2 separate regions of the Homo sapiens genome follow, and region 2 is linked to region 1. Evidence: promoter capture Hi-C in human tissues and cell types (Jung and others, 2019). All regions are on one chromosome and are shown on one strand. Each heading gives the region's core, a stretch centred on a gene start or on the middle of the fragment in contact. The rest is flanking DNA. Distances are from core to core; before and after follow the strand shown.

Evidence for each region. The method cuts DNA at HindIII sites, captures the fragments that hold promoters and counts their contacts. A contact is called where the count stands out against the background at its distance.
Region 2: a fragment that was not itself captured here is called in contact with the fragment with the promoter of LRRTM2 in region 1 in 1 of the 25 tissues and cell types used here (hippocampus).

The regions. Positions count from the first base shown.
Region 1 is chr5:138,872,263-138,877,635 of GRCh38, forward strand. LRRTM2 (leucine rich repeat transmembrane neuronal 2) reads right to left here and starts at 3,073. Exons shown (of 2, transcript NM_015564.3): 1 at 2,646-3,073; 2 at 1-2,294. The coding sequence starts at 2,649. The coding sequence ends at 748. The region is part of intron 7 of CTNNA1 (catenin alpha 1); the gene reads left to right. The HindIII fragment of the contact is 3,441 bases long and covers 1-3,407 here.
Region 2 is chr5:138,826,003-138,831,375 of GRCh38, forward strand. It overlaps CTNNA1 (catenin alpha 1), which reads left to right. Exons shown (of 18, transcript NM_001903.5): 7 at 1,513-1,716. Among named protein-coding and RNA genes, the nearest start is that of LRRTM2, 47 kb to the right of the region's middle. RefSeq lists an enhancer at 2,497-2,997. The HindIII fragment of the contact is 9,361 bases long and covers 1-5,373 here.

The sequences.
Region 1 (5,373 bases), core at 1,823-4,322:
AGTCAAACGAGAAATGTATAAGAAGTTGGTGTAATTATTTAGGATTGGTTTCATTGTAATGAGACCTTTTCACAGTCACTTGGATTCATTGTGTAAATATATTAAAGAGTCACTCAGCTTATTAGAATTACATTAAAGGGTTCTGAATTCATGATATGGACTTTGATAATATCTACTAACCCAGGCAGAAACTCTGGAAGGAGAATGTTTAATATTTACCAGTCTTCAGCATACATGAAATTCTACTTCCCACCCTGGCAAGAAATTGAAGATTTGAGTAAATACCAAATTATCATACAAGAGAACTTTACTAAGTCTCCTTTTAAGCAGCAAGATAGTTGTGGTACATGGGATGGAGAGCAGTGATCAAACAGGTATTGATCTATATCTGTTTCTGCCCAATAGCTTCTTTCTAAATTGTTTTCAGTAGAAAAAAATAGTATATGGAGACCTTAGTGTAAAGGTTTACACACGATTGTATATAATTACATACATTTCTTATTTTGAAGTAAGCATTTTAGACTTTCCAACAGGAGTGCAAATTAATGTGAGCATTGATTCATTTAACACTTAAAATATGGTTTCATTTAAAAAATTAAAAATACTTCAACACTTCAAAAACTAAGTCTCCACTTAGTTTGGAAAATTAGGCTTAATGTCACCATTGGTAAAAATTAGATATGTATTTAGCCTCTACTATGTAAAATAGGTTACTTATCTGATGTGATTTTTGATGATGGGTAGATATTATACTTCACATTCTTTGTATGGCAGCTGCTGACACTTGCACTGTCCATAACCATTAATGATGATGAAGGGTCCTTCATGGGTGGGTTCATATTCATTATACGGTCCTTGGTCTGACATGTTTGACATATGGAGTCGTGTTTGGGATCGGAGCTGCCTGTGGTTCTGAACCATTGAGCACTGCCTAATTCTTCTTAAAGTGGGAGGGCAGCACTTCCTGGAGATGAACACTATAAAAATAATAAAAAAGAAAGAAAACAATAAAGCCATTGTTCCCGTAATTACCCGCTGAGTGAAGATGGCATTGTCTGGTTCAGGAAAGTGTTCCTCGGTAGTAACTGCTATGCCTGCAGTAGTTGGGATTTCTTTGTCTCCCACATGGTAACTTGATGAGCTTATTCTTTTTGTATATTCAGTGGTTGGATCTCTATAAGTTGTAGCCATGACAGTGACAGTGGTTGACAAATTCCAGCAGAGCTGAAATCCATGGACTGCATCTAGAATATCCTCTCCTTGGGTGTGGTCAGGACTGTGGCATAGGATGGAGTGTTCCCACCGACCTTGGAAACTGCCCAGCCAGGAGGCCAGAGCACATATTCGGGCGCTGCATTCCCACAGATTGCCAGAGAGACCAACGGTTGTGAGGGATCTCAGGGAGTTTAAGATCTTGGAATCAAGGCTGTTTAACTTGTTGTTATCCATGAGGAGTATTTTAAGATTGGGCATCGTTTCAAACACTGTCAAGTCGATGGCTTTGATTTCATTTCCAGTCAGGTCTAGCTTTTCTAAAGTGCCCCAGGTCCACTCCATCCCACATGTCAAGTTGCTGATTTTGTTCCATTGTAAGAAGAGCGTGTGCAGACTGCTTAGCCGTAGGAAATGAGCAAAATTAATCTTCGTCAGCTGGTTGTGCTCTAGGTGAAGCTCTCTCAGTTTAATTAATCCTGCAAATCCATTGCGAGCCAAACTTCGCAAACGATTTGTGCTCAAATCCAGAAACTCCAGACTACGACAGTCCCAGAACAGGCGTACTGGGATAGTCCGCAGGGAGTTGGAACGTAAATGCAAGGTCTGCAGCTTCCGAAGGCCATAGAAGAGCTCTGGGTGCAGAGATGACAGCTGATTAAAAGACAGGTCCAAATTTTGCAGGTTAATCAGTTGGGTAAAAGTTGTGTTTGGCAAGTAAAATATTTTGTTGGAACTTAAGATTAATTCCTTAAGTTTATATAGTCCTTGAAAAGCATCTTCTTTTACTGTTGAAATTTGATTGTGATCTAAGTGGAGCCAAGTAAGTTGACTGAAGCTGGCAAATTGATCTCTTTCGAGCTCTGTGATGTGATTGTGCCTCAGGGACAGGCCCAGAGAGCCCTTGTCTGTGGCGTTTGGCACTGAGTGGAAGCCCTGAGAGTCGCAGTAGAAGAGCAGCTTCTCGCAGCGGCATTTGGGTGGACACGCCATACCCAGGGCAGGCAGCATTTTTAAAACCATACTCATTGCATATATTGCTGCCAGCATAGGGGCCCCTAATGGCCACTTGAAATGTAAGCCTGCAGAATATAATTTAAGGAAAACAAGAAGATAGGATATTTTTCAGCAGAACATATGGGCTATTTAAAAAAAACAACCACCACCAACATTATAGCAAAAGATTTCACTGCATATAACTTATTTTTCATTTACTGCAGAAAAATTAACCTTATTGGTATGACTGGACCAAAACTTAAGCCATTTAAAAAGAAGATAAAACATGTCTCTGTCATCATCGATATATGCTTTTACCTAAACCTCAAAATCCAAAATATGATGGTGATTTCCCTCATAAAATGTGAATTCGGTAGCTTATTTTAAAAGCGTGATTCCTTGTTGAATGTACAAGACATATAAATGCACAGACTTACCCATTCTTCTGAGCACATTGGAGGCTGCATTCAGTCGCGGTTGTTAGACTCAACGCAGTGAGTCTGTAAAAGGCTCTAACATGTAGGAGCCTTTGACCAGTTTCCTGTTTTCTGTGTCCCAGGCTTTCCAAGTAAAATTGAATCCACCAGGACGAGTTGTTTTTTCCTTAGGATATCCCTCTGGAAAGCATTGGTTTCATTTTCTGTGATTGCTCTGATCCCTAAATCAGTTTTGAATATAAGTTATTAAATTTCTCCACCTCTAACTGCTCAGCTGGTTAATCAAAGCTTCAGTCTCCTTTCCGCAGCCGTTAGTTCTCTTGGTCTTAACTTGTTGATGGCAGATGGGTGGCTTGTTGCAGAGAAGAGCTCCTGGAGCAGCATGAGTGCATTTACTGAAAAGCTTTTCCGAGAAACGGCACAAGAATGGATTTGCTTATGTGCTGCGACCACACAGAACTGTATATAGGCTGACGTCACCGGATGACGTGTCTTTTGTTTGGGTTTTCCAGAAGCTTTACTGTTATAAAGCACCATGCTTTGTAACAGCATCGGGGTCGTTGCAGGACCCCCTGATTACAATAAAGCGAGAAAGAAGAACTCCTGACTTAAAAACATGATATTCCTTCAGTGTAGGAAGCAGCAGTGAGGTTGTAATAAAGGCTGCATTCAAGAAGACCCATCTGAACAGTGAGTTGGGTTAGCAGAGTGATGATTTTTAATGCTTGTGAGAGCCAGTGTTAGACTGCCGATTCTGCATAGAGAGATCATCTAAATGGGCAGAAGCCTGCACAATTTATGAAGTGCTGATTTAACACCAGCCTATGCAAGGTAGTGTCGCTGCACTGGTAGTTTGGAAAGCTATTCAGTTGCCTTGTTGTCATGCTTGGTTAAAATCAAAGTATGACTATGATTTGCTTTAGATGTGTTGATAAACTAGCTAAGTGGGCTTGGCTTGTTTGTCATCAAGAGCTTAACATTATAAACGAAGAATAAAGGGGGAGGGGAAGCTTGCAAAACAAAGCATGTGGTTATTTTTTTCTTTGAGAATTTCAGGGGAACTCTAAAAAGATTTCTCTTTCTCCTATTTTATAACAATGTTTTGTCGCCATACTGATTGAAAAAATAATGCTGAGTTGATCTTTAAATGTCCTCCTGGGAGGACAAGGCAGGTTGATACAGTCATTTTAATGCACATGCCCTAACAGCAAAGCAGAGATGATTTAGGACAAGTGATACCGTGTAGCTGGATTCTGACATGGCCCCTTGTATTTTACCTCAGAATCTCACCTACTCCATAACTAAAAGCCTCCGCTGGTACTGAGGTTGGTGGTTGTGACACTGAAATAATAGAGCATTTGCACCCTAGTTCCCAGCCACCAAGTGGCTGACTTAACTGAGCCTACTGCTGTTGTTAGAACCTGTCTTGTGAATACAAAAGGTCACTCATGCTTTGGACTGGGATTTTTGTTTTGACTTGATTTTGCTTGCCCTAACTCCAGTTTCTCCCTGTTGAATGGTGTCTTCACTTTTCAGACCTCAGTTGTGGATGTATAGCTCCATGTTTAGTGTTATATAAATGCAAAAGATGTTTCTAGATGTTATATTTTCAGGCCTGACAAAGGTAAGCCCTTTTCTACATCTTGCCTTATTGATTTGACCCAACATACCTATTTCTCCCATATCATTGGCACTTACCCTTTGTGGGTCTTGTCTCAGACCTAAGGACAGACATCTTTAAAACTACTGATGGTGTCTGTGAAACAAGAACATCGTTGGCCTTTTTGGTTCTGAGGGATTCATCCCACTGGGCAGATCTAAGAAGTAATTGTCTTGGGTAAAATTTTTCTGTTGTAGTGTTGTGCTGGAGTGAGAGCTGTGAGACTCCAAGGTCCCTTCCTTAGGGCTCTGTGTAAAGGTGCTATGAAAACTGCAGCAGTGCAGGTGTGTGGTTTGAGTCCTCCTAGAAGTGATCCCAAGGTAGAATTAGAAGTACAAGAGGCAAAAATGCCTACGAAGTACAAAGGGAGACAGAAGGCAGCAGGAATGCTCTGAGAGTCTTCGTACCACAGGGCAGGTCTGACACCTGTGAAGGGACAGAGGAAGCAAAGAAGATGAGATTGGCATTGTGGTTCTTAGACACATTTTGTAGGCTGAATGGAAATTCCCAAGCCAAAGTTGCCAGTGAACAGACTCTTGAGTCCTTAGTAATGAGCCTGCACTAGTACGTCCTCTTTGTTCCTTCTTGCTGGTTAAAGAAGGGAAGGAAACAAGTCCTGGTTTAGACCCGGGGAATGCTACTCCCCCTCTGACCTTAATCCTTCCTATAGTCTCTCTCAATAGGCTAGAACTTCTTAACCTGGTTCCATAAACTGTCTTGTGAAATTTTTTTGCTTGTTCATTTTTCTGTGGATAAGGTTGAGTCCGATTCCTACAGGGTCTCTCACCCTAGGTTTCAGAGCTGCTGTTCTACAGGAACTTGCCCCCAAAAGTTCTAAGGACAGTAGTCTCATAGGAGTGGTCTCTTAAATTTCTTTTTTTTTTTTTTTTTGAGACGGAGTCTCGCTCTGTCGCCCAGGCCGGACTGCGGACTGCAGTGGCGCAATCTCGGCTCACTGCAAGCTCCGCTTCCCGGGTTCACGCCATTCTCCTGCCTCAGCCTCCTGAGTAGCTGGGACTACAGGCGCCCGCCACCACGCCCGGCTAATTTTTTGTATTTTTAGTAGAG
Region 2 (5,373 bases), core at 768-3,267, 47 kb before region 1:
TAAAATGAGGGTTTGTGCTAAATGATCTCAGGCTCATTGAGGCTCTGTTACTCTATTAAAATTCTATGACCATTCATTTCTCATTTTTGTTGGCCAGAAAGCATTTTGTATTCAGTTTTGACCAGAGAAATCCTGTAATAACCTAACCTTACAAAAAATGATCAGCTAAAATGTGTAGGTTAATAATGAACTGAAGGTATTGCATGTTCAGTTTGAAAACTGAGGGTTCTTTGGAAGGGAAGGAAGAAATGTATACTTATTGGAAAAGGGCAAGGTTTTGGTAGAAAAAATTTGGCATTTAAGTTGAAATCAATAAGGACATAGTCTCTGTAAAGAAAAATTAAAGCCATAATATTTGCACAGACATTTATCAGGGTGAGGATAAATTATATCAAGTGGAGGAATTGGAGGGAGGCCAGTAGCTGCTGTCTTGAGGATGCCGATGTTTCACCTTGTACCTATAGCTTACTTGTGACCAGACCTCACTAAATGCTAGAAAAGCTGGATGTAAGTGGAGTCAGGAGGGAAGGGGAGACAGAAAAAGGATTTATTCTTATTGGAGCAGTTCTTCCTCACAGCTTAGGTTTTTGGGAGGATTGCTATCATCTCTTACAGAATACTAGAGGTCTTTGAGGAAAGGAAGTCTCTAATTTAGACATAACAGGATAAATTTGAGACTGAATTATTTAGAAAACTTGATTAGATGTGTAAGATGAGGCAAATAGATGGAAATTCATTGTAAATGCATTTCTTTCTGAAACTTTAAGGTTAGAGATCAGTTTGTATGTGTGCGCACACGTGTATATATTTTAAGAGACAAAGTCTTGCTCTGTTACCCAGGCTGGAGTGCAGTGGCACAATCATAGCTCACTGCAGCCTTGAACTTCTGGGTTCAAGTGATCCTCCCGAGTAGCTGGGACTATAGGCGTGTGCCACCATGCCCAACTTATTTTATTTTTTTGTAGAGACAGGGTCTTGCCTCGTTGCCTAGGCTGGTGTTCAACTGGCCTCAAACAATCCTCCTTCAATCTCTCAAAGTGTTGAGATTACAGGCATAAGCCACCACACCTGGCTTGTTTGGCTTTTATTTTTTAATTTTTTTGTGGTGCAACAGTTCTAAATATCACATGGCAGTTTTATATTCTGCAAGTAAGAGGTAACTTTTATTTTCCTTGTAATTCTCATCTGATGATTTGAATTGCTAGTCTTATACGGGTTTACCTTTAGATGTTCAGAATAAGTTGTGTGAGCATGATATGTTTGTATTTGTGGTATCATACCTTATCATGCCTTGTTTGGCTACATAGCATTACTTCCACTGCTTTCTTTGAGGAGTGATCAACAGTAGGCCATCTTCTGTGGGACAGCCCCTTACCTGCTAAGAAGTATAACTTTCTTTCAGATGTTGGAATTTTTGTGTTAAATCTTGATATTACTAATAACACTTTTCTCACCTTGAATAAAGAAGGGAACAGAGATGAGTACTAACATTCGGTAATACTTTCTCTGCAGAAACAAATCATTGTGGACCCCTTGAGCTTCAGCGAGGAGCGCTTTAGGCCTTCCCTGGAGGAGCGTCTGGAAAGCATCATTAGTGGGGCTGCCTTGATGGCCGACTCGTCCTGCACGCGTGATGACCGTCGTGAGCGAATTGTGGCAGAGTGTAATGCTGTCCGCCAGGCCCTGCAGGACCTGCTTTCGGAGTACATGGGCAATGTGAGTTTGACAGCTTTTCTTTGAAGTAAGATATTTATGGATGAGGAGTTTTCTATAACATGTTGGATCTGAGATGTTTTCACTATAAATACCAAATATGTCCTTGACTCCTTGATTTTTGGGAGTAGGTCAGATTTTTAAAGAAATGGATAAATGGCTAAGTGGCTCTTTCCTCTCTCCAGCTTATTGAGAAATTTTCAACTTATAAAAATCATACAGTGAATACCTAGGAAATTTATCTGTATTCATCAATTAACATGTAGATACATGTGTAGGTGTGTGTATATATAAATGTATATGTATGTATGGTATATACACAAACATCCTTTTTTCCCCCGAAGCCTTTGGAAGAAAGTTGTAGACATTGTGATGCTTCACCTCTAATATTTTAGCATGCCTCTCCAAAGAATAATGACCTTCTATACCACTAAAGTTTCATTATCCCAAGTAGGTGGCTAATTTTGGGCAAAAGGGAATGTTGAAAACCTGCCTCCTCAATATTTATAGTTGTGAAAGTTTTTTCGTGAACCATATTGAATGTCACAAGAGTAGATAATTGCCAAGTAGAGTTACATAAAGCAAACTCTGGATAGTGTTTTTGAATTTTGAAGGTTTGTGCATAAAAACCCAGGCTATGAAATTTGATACCCACTTTTTTTTTAAAAGGCCATAGAAAATTCTATATTTGTTGATTTTTCTCTGTTGCCATATGTCTTTCTTTTTTTCCTTCGCTTATACTTCTTCTATTCTGGTTATTTAATGCTAGCTTAGGGTTCCTGTCATTTAGACCTTGGACCCAATATTTTACTGTAGCTAATTAGCAATAAATTAAGTAAAAATTATATGAAATCATTTTAAGGGGAAGAAGGACAACAACACAAATTAGTTGTCATCACTAGCGTTTTTTACCTGTTTAACACCTAAAAAAAAGATCTTGGTTCTTTCTCATTTGTTCGTTTGCCATACATCTTGTCTGTTCACTTACAGGCCTGTAAAAGTTAATGGGTGATGGTAAATCATGGTGGAATTCCTAGGGTGAAGATGAATGCCTTCCTCTGTTTATCTTGTCTCTACCATACTGTGAAATTAGTGATGCATATTGAATTTTTTTAAAGCCATTGCCCCCTGGGCATGATGGTTCAAGCCTGTAGTCCCAGCGTTTTGGGAGGCTGAGGTGGGTGGATTGCGTGAGCCCAAGAGTTTGAGACCATCTTGGGCAACATGGTGAAATCCCATCTCTACAAAAAATACAAAAGTTAACTGGGCATGGTGGCGCACGCCTGGTCTCAGCTACTCGGGAGGCTGAGGCGGAAGAATCGCTTAAGCCTGGGAGGTTGTGGCTACAGTGAACCATGGTCGCGCCACTGTGCTCCAGCCTGGGCGACAGAGCGAGAGTGTCTCAAAAAAAAAAGCCATGTTTTGATTATAGGCAGTCTACTTAAGAAAAATGAGATTAGAGGTTTTGTTAAATCAAATGGAAAAAGTGGTTTTTAAGTCACAGTGAAAATGTGGGACACATTTAAAAATCCATAGCTAAGATTGAACATTAGAAAATATTTTAAAAGATGGATATGTTGCAGAATGGCTCACAATGTTGCAGTCTTAAACAGGGGAACAAAAACTCATGGTAAGTGGATCAGTCATCTGCTATCATGGGTAGTGCTGGAAATGGTGTAAAAGTGTCTTATGTAGTTATGATGAGGAAATCACTTCAAAAACAGACTTTGGTGGGAAGGAGGATGTGATAAATCTGTTCCGATTGCTCCGTTTTAGAGCCTCCTAATCAGTCTATAAGATATCCCTTGAGTCTTGAGGTTGGTCACATTCTTGGGCCAATCACCCCTGGTCATGAGTAACCTTGAGGTTTCGAAACCTAGAGTGCCATACAAACAGTACTGTCTATTCATGCCATCAGTGTAAGAAAAGGTGGGAAGCACTCATTTATACTGAAGACATGGAGACTGCAGTAGCATTCTTAAATGAAAACTGGAACAATGTGTGATGTGAGGCTGAAATTTGAGTATTATGGTAGGGATCTTGAAAGAAATCTTGGCCGGGCACGGTGGCTCACGCCTGTAATCCCAGCACTTTGGGAGGCCAAGGCAGACGGATCACAAGGTCAGGAGATTGAGACCATCCTGGCTAACATGGTGAAACCCAGTCTCTACTAAAAATACAGAAAAATTACCTGTAATCCCAGCACTTTGGGAGGCTGAGGCGGGCAGATCACAAGGTCAGGAGATAGAGACCATCCTGGCTAACGTGGCGAAACCCTGTCTCTACTAAAAATACAAAAAAATTAGCCGGACATGGAGGCGGGCGCCTGTAGTCCCAGCTGCTCTGGAGGCTGATGCAGGAGAATGGTGTGAACCCAGGAGGCGGAGCTTTCAGTGAGCCAAGATCACGCCACTGCACTCCAGCCTGGGGAACAGAGGGAGACTCCATCTCAAAAAAAAAAAAACCCAAAAAATAAACAAACAAAAAACAGAAAAATTAGCCAGGCGTGGTGTGGGGGCCCCTGTAGTCCCAGCTACTCGGGAGGCTGAGGCAGGAGAATGGTGTGAATCCAGCAGGCGGAGCTTGCAGTGAGCCAAGATCGCACCACTGCACTCCAGCCTGGGCGACAGAGCGAGATTCTGTCTCAAAAACAAAAAAGCACAAAAGAAAGAAATCTTCTTGAGATTTAGAAATGTATTTTAGGAGATGGTCTCTGGGTATGTTTCTCCTAAAGGTAAAAATCTTTAGTTTCCTTTTATTGATTCACGTAACAGTGAACAGGCTTGGTCCTGTCAAAAAGCACTGGAGTGAGGATAAACGGTGAGGGCAGTGGAGCACACTTGAAGAAAGCTTAGAATGATAAAAGGGTCTGGAAGAAGCAGAAGCAACTGGGGATAGATTTTTGCTTATTTATGAAGCATTCAAAAACATTTAGAACCTCTAGTGAGTGTCAGAATATAACCAGCAATGTCTGCCTGTCAGTCAGTTCATTCTGAGTATGTGACACATGCAAAGCAGTGTGTTGGGCACAATGTAAGAGGAGGAATGAGGCTCTGATCCCTCCCTTCTGGAACAGACAAAGTTTCTATAGGGGGTTTAATGGGAGTGTCATCATAGGTACAGCCAAAATGCTGTGGAAATTGCAAGGAGGTTGAGGTTATTTCTATCTGGGAAATCCAGGAGGCTTTCTCTTCTAGAAGATTTATTTTGTAATCTTTTGGTTAACTTCTATCTTGATTTTAAAAAAATGGTTCATTTTATTTCTGTTGAAAAATATTAGACAAATTATGTTATGTGGAGAATTGAAATCACCTACATTAATTAATACTTGTTTACTACGTGGAACTTTGTATAAACATTGTTGTAAAGTCCAGAAAGGCTCACATAATATTCACTTTTTCTGTTTCTTGGATTCTCTCATGTTGTTATTAATATTTTTATGGACACACATTCGTAAAGTGTCTTCTTTCTTCGTTTTGTGTTGCTTATTACCAGGTTCCACTGGCTTTTTCTCTGAGGCAGTGATTCTTAACTTTGGATGCACATTACAGTCCTTGGGCAACTTTGATGTTTCAGGTGTACCCCAGACCAATTAAGTCAGAATCTCTGCGTCAAGATCCAAGCGTCAGTTATTTTAAAACACTTCCCAGTTGATTCCAG